Regions from separate parts of the Homo sapiens genome. Here region 2 is linked to region 1. Evidence: promoter capture Hi-C in 16 types of primary human blood cells and fetal thymus (Javierre and others, 2016). All regions are on one chromosome and are shown on one strand. Each heading gives the region's core, a stretch centred on a gene start or on the middle of the fragment in contact. The rest is flanking DNA. Distances are from core to core; before and after follow the strand shown.

What was found. Contacts are between HindIII fragments. The CHiCAGO score rates a contact against its expected background, and 5 or more counts as called.
Region 2: a contact is called between a fragment that was not itself captured here and the fragment with the promoter of PI4KB in region 1, in 1 of 17 cell types (erythroblasts). The highest score is 6.4, in erythroblasts.

The regions. Positions count from the first base shown.
Region 1 is chr1:151,325,864-151,330,211 of GRCh38, forward strand. It overlaps PI4KB (phosphatidylinositol 4-kinase beta), which reads right to left and starts at 1,553. Exons shown (of 12, transcript NM_001369623.2): 1 at 1,408-1,553. RefSeq lists an enhancer at 1,061-1,985 and a silencer at 1,921-1,990. The HindIII fragment of the contact is 3,220 bases long and covers 1-2,653 here.
Region 2 is chr1:151,537,346-151,541,225 of GRCh38, forward strand. It overlaps CGN (cingulin), which reads left to right. Exons shown (of 21, transcript NM_020770.3): 21 at 1-1,347. The coding sequence ends at 1. It overlaps TUFT1 (tuftelin 1), which reads left to right and starts at 2,964. Exons shown (of 13, transcript NM_020127.3): 1 at 2,964-3,081. The coding sequence starts at 3,022. RefSeq lists enhancers at 1,709-2,225, 2,741-3,256, 3,257-3,771. The HindIII fragment of the contact is 2,278 bases long and covers 337-2,614 here.

The sequences.
Region 1 (4,348 bases), core at 303-2,802:
GATGCCTACAGAGAGTGGGCATTTTCCAAAAGGATCACTCTAGAGGTCAAGTGAGGAAGTCACATGCTGAACCCAGGAGTCCCGATTCTGAATGTACAAGCTCTTTCCATTGTCTCATGTTCCTTTTTCCAGTTATACCCTTACCCCACTCCAGGCCTGAATTCTTATGGAACCAACCAAAACTATTCTAGTAAACCACAAGAATAAACTGATTCCTCATGGATCTGGACAGGGGTGAGAAGGCACTCTATTCTGTGATTCCTTTAACAAAAGCCTAAAATTAAATAATCTGAAACAAGTTTTCTCACAATCTCATTCAATTTCCACGCAGGCCTGTTCATCCCTCTTAGTGGCTGCTCCGGAGTAGTCAACCAAGTGTAATCTGATAGGGACTTCTTCAAAACTTGCTCCGGCCTTCAGAAACACCCTTCTGTCCTGAACGGCCTGAGGCAGCTGAGGCTCCCCCTGCTCACAACACATTTTTCTTCTTAGTTCAAGGTTTAGTTGATCCTGAAATAAGTGGTATGTGGAGATAAAGAGTGTAACAGAGAACACATGAAGCCCACGGGAAAAACAGAACAAATGTCACAAGGATCAGAGAAATCCCTGAAACTCGAGGGAGGTGTCAAAGTTGGAAATCCTGAATGGGAAGGGCACTGTCAAATCTCTCCCCTACAGACAGAAACCTCTAGAAAGTTGGGGGATTGAGGAGGGAGAAAGAGAAGCTAAAGAAAGTTATAGGGATCATAATGCATCCCAGAGAAGAGTGAGGACTAGGTTCAAAGTAAGAATGTAAATGGTACTTTTGGATTGATGACAAGGGCCCGAGATCCCTTAAGGAGAAGGGAACAGGCAATTCTTGGAAGCCAGGAGCTGGCTGGGTAGGTGGGTGACAGTGAGGTAATGGAATCAGAAGCAGCACAGGAAGACAGGGATGCAATCTTTAGCTCAGGGAAATGGGAACCCAGTGCTGGAGTTGCACAGGGACATAGGAGGAAAAGTGCAAACTAGGAAAAGAGATAAAGGTGGAGTCCATGGAAAAGGTTTGGGGCAGGGGCAGAGACGACGAGGAAGGACAAGGATGGGCATTATGGGAGTCGTCTGATATGGAAAGGGTTCATGACTTAAAAAAAAGAATTATTCGAGACGTAGGCAACAGGGATGAGTGAGGGAGGGGGGAATCCCCGAGGCAGAGGGAGGAGCTAATAGAAGAGGAAGCCAAAAAGCGGAGGAGGACCCCAGGCCTGAGAGGAAAGGGTGGAGAAGGAACCCGGGGTGCAGCTGACACCAAGAGGGCAGTTTCGTAGTCGAACTCAGGTGGGGAAGACTGTGCGGGACAGGGTGGGAGAGGGACCCCCCCCCCCACCCAACAGGGCAAAGGTGACTCATGAAGGAGGAGTAGCTTACCTCTGGGGGACCCCCGCGGAGGGGGTGCGGGCAGTCGCGGTTGGACTGCCGACACTGCCGCCTCAGCAGCAGCGACCGCTCCCGGGTTCCATTGGCCGCCTGCGCTTCCCTGACAGCGGCCGCGGAGGCTGCACCAGGCCCCGGCTGCGGGGCTGCCCGCGGCGCCGCCTGAGGGGGCCTTCAGGCTGCCACAAGTTCGACCGGGCCACACAACCTCTTCTTCCTCCCTCAGTACAACCAAGACCAAAAAAATAATAAAATAAAATAAAATTCCCCAGCAGGTCTCGATGTAGTATTCTTCTCCGGAGTCCAAGCCAAGCCTTTCTTCCCAGGATACGCTTTCCTGCTTCCCCAGCGGTCAGGACCCTACCGATTCCATAGTAATCTAAGGAGTCGGGTGAGCTGCCTGGAACATGCCTGTTCAGAAATAGAAAAGGGGGCGGGGAAAAGATGTTTGGAAGCTCTCGAGGGAGAGAGGGCGAAGGGAGGAGCTTACGGGTGGGAGGAGGGGCCAATATTTAAGAAGCGGACCTAAGCGATAGCGTTTGCGAGGCTAAAGAAGCCGAGAGAGAAGTAAAATTTGCTGCATAAGTAGGGTGAGCAGGCGGCCGTGGGTGCCCTGTTAAAGAAGTATGGACATATGCATACTTCCAGAAGTATATTAACATGCAAGTTATATGTAAACGACCGTTTGAGTAACTAACCAAATTACCGTAATTGCAATCAATGACTTTTCCCCCTCCCGTATGCTACAAGACTCCCTTAGTAAATCAGGCCGTGGGATGGACGCTGGGTTCCTAGAAGGGCGCGCAGGAAGACGGCGGACGGGGAAGACGTTCTTTCTGACTGCCCTTTTCCTACTTATCTTGGAGGACGATGCGGAGTTTAAGCTCCTTAACATTTCGGGAATGGCGCGGTCCAACCGCGTCAGTCTTTTCGCCGTTAGAGGCCCGACTCGAGGCCGTGGTTCTGCCTCCGAGGTCACCAACCTGCCTGGGCAGCCTGTGACCTCCAGCATCCATATGCCCAGCCCTCCAGGGAGGGGCTGGACAGGGCCAGGTTGGGAGAGGTGAGTGAAACGACAAAGGCTTGGAGGGCACAATCCCTTCTTCCAAACAAAACGAAACCATATTAGGCCAAACAAATAAACAAAAACACGCCATGCAAATGGGCCTCTGGTGTTGCTTTTGTGTATTTTTCGTTTGTTTGTTTGTTTTGTAAAGACAGGGTCTTGCTATGTTGCCCAAGCTTGTCTCGAACTGTTAGCCTCAAGCAATCTGCCGGCCTCAGGTACCAAAGTGCTGGGATTATAGGCCCGACCTCGCCCAGCAAGTTTTTTGTGTATTTTTCGGTTAAGATTGTTGATTTAGAGCCCTCTTTGTCCTCAGAACCTCTATCTCAATGCCTTTCCTAGGGCTTTACTTAATATGCAATGCCCCTCATTAGTGCCTTACTTAATACATTGAGGCTAGTTATTTGAGCCCGGGTCTTGAATGCCATCTTCCCTGCCACTTACAAGCCGTTTGATTTGGAATAACTAATGTAACCTCTTTAAACCTCAGTTTCTATGTCTACAAAGAAGACATATGGATGAAGTAATATTAGCCCATTACAGGGTTTTGTTAGGATCAAGAGAGTACAAGTTGCTACTATAGTACTTTATTATTAATTATTGGGACAATCATACAGGATAGATGATGAAAGAGTCACTGCTACAATGTTTAATTGGAAGGCAGAATAAAGTGTAATAGCTTGAAAATGCCTGTGTAAAACATGCAGTATATACAACAGTAGAACAAATGGGGTACCTAACCTAATTGCTGAAGGGACATAGTGGAGTTTAAGTTAATTTGGAAGGCCTATATGTGTATGGACACACACACATACACACACACACACACACACACACACACACACACACACCAGTATATGGTGAATGAATGAATGGAAGGCTTCTTAGAAATATTGTGAGTCAGGTCTTAGAATAGATATTGGATATAACCCAGCAAAATAAAAGACAAGCGAGCATTCTGAAAGCAAAAAAATTGTATGTTGAAGAATATAAATGGGAATTTGCTCATATCATGAGGAGAGGGCAAGCAGACAAGCTAGGTTAAAGCAGGAGTACAGTATGAAAGATGAACAAAGAATGGGGACAAGAGTGCCAAAGATAGTTTAAATTTGTCAGCTGGGCACAGTGGCTCACACCTGTAATCCCAGCACTTTGGGAGGCTGAGGTGGGCAGATTGCTTGAGCTCAGGGGTTTGAGACCAGCCTGGGCAACATGGTGAAACCACGTCTCTTCAAAAATACAAAAATTAGCCTAGCTGGCATGGTGGCATGCACCTGTAGTCCCAGCTACTTAGGAGGCTGAGGTAGGAGGATCACTTGAGCCTGGGAGACAGAGGCTGCAGTGAGCCAAGATCATGCCACTGCACTCCAGCCTGGACAACGGAGTGAGACCCTGTCTCAAAAAAAAAAATCGGCTTGGCGTGGTGGCTCACGCCTGTAATCCCAGCACTTTGGGAGTCCGAGGTGGGTGGATCAGTCGAGGTCAGGAGTTTGAGACCAGCCTGACCGACTTGGTGAAACCCTGTCTCTACTAAAAATACAAAAATTAGCTGGGCATGGTGGTGGGTGCCTATAATCCCAGCTACTAGGGAGGGTGAGGCAGGGAATCACTTGAACCTGAGAGGCAGAGGTTGCAGTGAGCCGAGATTGCGCCATTGCACTCCAGCCTGGGCAACAGAGCGAGACTCCATCTCAAAAAAAAAAAAAAAATTCTCACCACTGGTCTGGATTGGGGAGAATCACCAGTCCACATGTTAGGCCCACCAGCTCTTGGCCAGCTTCCAATCAGCTGTCCCGCAAATATCATGAGGCGATGACCCTGCTTTAGCCTAGAGTTTAAAATGTCATGTATCCCCTCAAGGGATAACCT
Region 2 (3,880 bases), core at 226-2,725, 210 kb after region 1:
GCTCGTGGTCCTCAAGGACTCAGAAACCAGGCTCGAGGCCTATCCCAGCAAGTGCTGCTCTGCTCTGCCCACCCTGGGTTCTGCATTCCTATGGGTGACCCAATTATTCAGACCTAAGACAGGGAGGGGTCAGAGTGATGGTGATAAAAAAAAAAAATCATCAGCAATAAGCTGATAGATGGACTTTCCACTGTAGGAGTGGACATTTCAAGCCAACTGAGCCTTTTCCTCAAGTGCCGACACCTCCCTCATCTCTCTTATAGTGGAAGGATGGTCAGCATTAGGCTGATGGGGACTGAGAAGGATAGGAAGGGATAGAAATTGCCATGTGTATAAAGCTTTATTCTTTAGCCCTTAACCCTAAGGCTCAGGGAAATACCCTATGTTATTGTGCTCCCTGGATTCCTGCAACTCATTTTCCTTCCACTCTGGAGCAGGGTGAGGGGAATGTTATGGGTAACAGACATGCAGGCATGGCTCTACCCATTTCTTTGCACAAGTATGGGGCCCATGTGGTAGTCCCCATACCCCTCCAGTTCCTATATTTTTGTCTTCTTCCTTTCCCCTCTTTGCCATTCCTACCTTGCATTTTTCCTGTCAGTGCCTTAGCCAAGGCAAGGAGATAAGGATGCTCTTCTTGCTTTTTATATCTGCACATTCATACCTCTCCAAAGACCAGCTTTTCCCCAGCCAGGGCCCTCAGCCTTCCCTGCTGCCCCAGTGATTGATTGAGAGAGCTGTTGGGGTTTCTCTGCCAATGACCCCTGGGAGAGGGACTTTGGTAGGGTCATGATAAAGTGGCGGGGGTCTGGTCCTGCTCAGGGTTTTCATCCTTCCTCCTCTCCCTCCTCTGTGACTGTGGATATGGTTATAAGGTGGTTGCACCTGGGAGCCCTGACAACTGGCTGCACAAATTCCAAAAGTAAAGGTGTCAGTCCCTGTGGCCTTCCTTGGGGCTTCTCTGACCACATGTGCCCAACTTCAATAAGAGAACCAAGGGACCCTCATTTTCTGAGGTGCTTGGCTCTGATTCAGGGCTTTGCAAGGGGTTAGAAGCTGACTGTAAAAATGGGAAGAGGCAACGGAAGACATTTATTTCTCCTTTGGATTTTGGGGAGAACCAAGCCCTGGTAGGGAAGAGGTAAGGGGGATGATTCACCTCCATATTTCCTAAGCAGGTTGTATAGGGAGCCGGTGGCAGGAGGAAGGCTGTTTTCACAAATGACTTGTAATGTCGTGATTAAAAAAATTCCTATATTCTTCTGCAAATCAAACGTTCTTTCCCAATCCAATCCAGCCTTGGTTTTATTTTAAATTAAATATTAAAATTACACATTTATATTGAAATCCTTGGTTTGTCTTCTCATTCTTTTTCTTGGCATATTTGGAGGTCCAGATTTTATGAAGTCATATTAACTGTACAGCTTAGGAGCCGAAGCTGGAGTTTTCTTCACCTGACTTTTCAGAGGCCCTTTAGAACAGAGCAGATGGGACCTACGAAACCTGGAGATGTTTATAGCAGCCCCATTCTCTTCTCTCCTGAACAACCTTCTGGGAAGAACAAGGACAGTAAATGCCTTTTTTTTTTTTTTTTTTTTGAGACGGAGTCTCACTCTGTCACCCAGGCTGGAGTGTAATGGCATGATCTCAGCTCACTGCAACCTCTGCCTCCCGGGTTCAAGCGATTCTCCTGCCTCAGCCTCCTGAGTAGCTGGGATTACAGGCGCGTGCCTCCACACCCAGCTAATTTTTGTATTTTTAGTAGAGATGGCGTTTCACTGTGTTGGTCAGGCTGGTCTCAAACTCCTGACCTTGTGATCCGCCCACCTCGGCCTCCCAAAGTGGTGGGATTACAGGCATAAGCCACTGCGCCTGGCCAGCAGTAAATGCCTTTTTGAGGGTTAGAGTAGAACAGACCAGAACTGGGTTTTATTCCCTTGGGTCATAGTGATAACCCCAGCATTCACTTCCCAGGTAGAAAAATCCTCATTCATTCCTAACTGACATAGGACCCAGTCCCTAACTGGGAGGTAGGGACATTTCTGCTGTTCCTGCCCTAGTGTTGCCTTGAAGAGGGAGCTGGCCCTTCACTAGAGCCTATTGCCAGGTATAGGAGTACTATCCCTTCAGGAGTGGGTCAGACCTCCTCCTAAAGTATTCTGTCTGCTGTCTCTGTGGACCACAGCCAAGTGAAGAAGCCATCTGCCAAGAGCAGCTGGGCGGGGACGAAGCTCCAGGGTCCTGCTTGGCCAACCCTCTCTTCTAGGCCCTCAAGATCCCAGCCTAGGCTTGGGGAGAAAATGCAACTGGAAAAGTCAAGGCTCATCCTTTCTCACGAACACAAATTCCTTTTAAGGCAATGTGTCCCGCCTCTCCCAACTATATAAGGGCAGCGTCAGTAAAAGAGCTTCTGCAAAACAAGCCCCACCCAGAGCCTAAGCTGACTGGGCCTCCTGGGCCTCTTGCCAAGGAAGTGCACCTGCCAGACTGGCTTAGGCCAGTCTGAGTGAGCTGGACCTTGGTGCCTGCCTTTCTGCGGTGGAGGAAAGGTTTACTCAGCTCCACAAAGCCTACAGGTGGCTTACGTATAGGGAGAGGAGCATGTATGGAAGGAAGCTTTTGCAGGTTCCAACTCCTCATCCACTAGGAGCAGGCAGGGTGATTCCCTCTGACCAACACTGATCTTGGAAAGATGGAAAGCGACAAGATTAATGAAGAATGTGCAACCACATACTCCAGATAAAGCTGTTCAGTTAAAGCAGCCCCATGTCGCTCCCAAGCCCCACCTTTGTGTAAATCTATGCGAGCACCGATGGGGCATGTCCCAGACCCATTGGCTCCGCCCACCTCACCTCCTCGCCTATCGTTAGTTCTCTGCGAAACCGCGAACTGGGGGCGCGGCCTATCTTCAGCCCCGCCCCTGATGGGCCTATACAAGGGGGCGGTTCCGCGCGCGCCCGCCCAGTTGGAGCCAGACAGCGGGGTGGACAAGTGGCGTGTGTGCTGCGACCCCGAGGGAAGATGAACGGGACGCGGAACTGGTGTACCCTGGTGGACGTGCACCCAGAGGACCAGGCGGCGGTAAGAAAAAGCGCTCTCGCTGTCTTCTCCGTTTTGTATTCCCGGTTTCTAAGTCCGCCCCTTCCGTGCCCCGCGCCGTGTTGGCTGACATCACCTGGTGCCCGGCTCGCGCGGTCAGCCCTGCGCGGCGCTTCTCTCTTTTTATTCTTTTGCCTGCGACGGGCAGTGGGAGTCGCGGGGTGAAGACTCCTTTGAGGCTGGAGGGTTCGGGGCGTCCCTGCCCTTTGGTAGGACACTGCGGCTCCTGCCTGGGACTCGGCGCCGGCGAGCCCGTGCTTGGGCCGCGGGTCTCAGGCGTCTTTTGGGCAGCCACATTGGGTCATAAGAGAATGAGCTCAAGCGACTGGGTCCCTGAGCGCCTTTGGACGTTGTGTCCTGCCGAGGAGGCTTAGGCTTTCCCGTGGGTCGAGGGTCCTGGTGACCTCCGAGGCCCTCCAAAGAATTTCATCATGGTGCTTTGGATGATCAGTAACAAGAAAAATGGTAGAGTAAATTACAGGGCTTGGACTGGAGGGCGGGGGGCAAGTAGGGGACGGTAGGACTCAAACTATTCCGAGATTGGCTAGGGACTCTACCTTTCGCTAAGGGATAGGGCTTTCCGCCCGGGGGTCACCTCTTGTCTTGGATTTCTCCTTCTTCCCCCTTGTAGTTCTCTTGTTTTCCTCCCTCTATCTGCCTGCCGATAGCTTCCTGGGACGGTGTGTTAGTTTTGCTTCCGTCTCCAGCCGCCAGGCCCTGGGATAGTGGAGGAAGGGGATGCAGAACCCGGGCCGAGAAGGGGAGGGAAGTGACCCAAGCG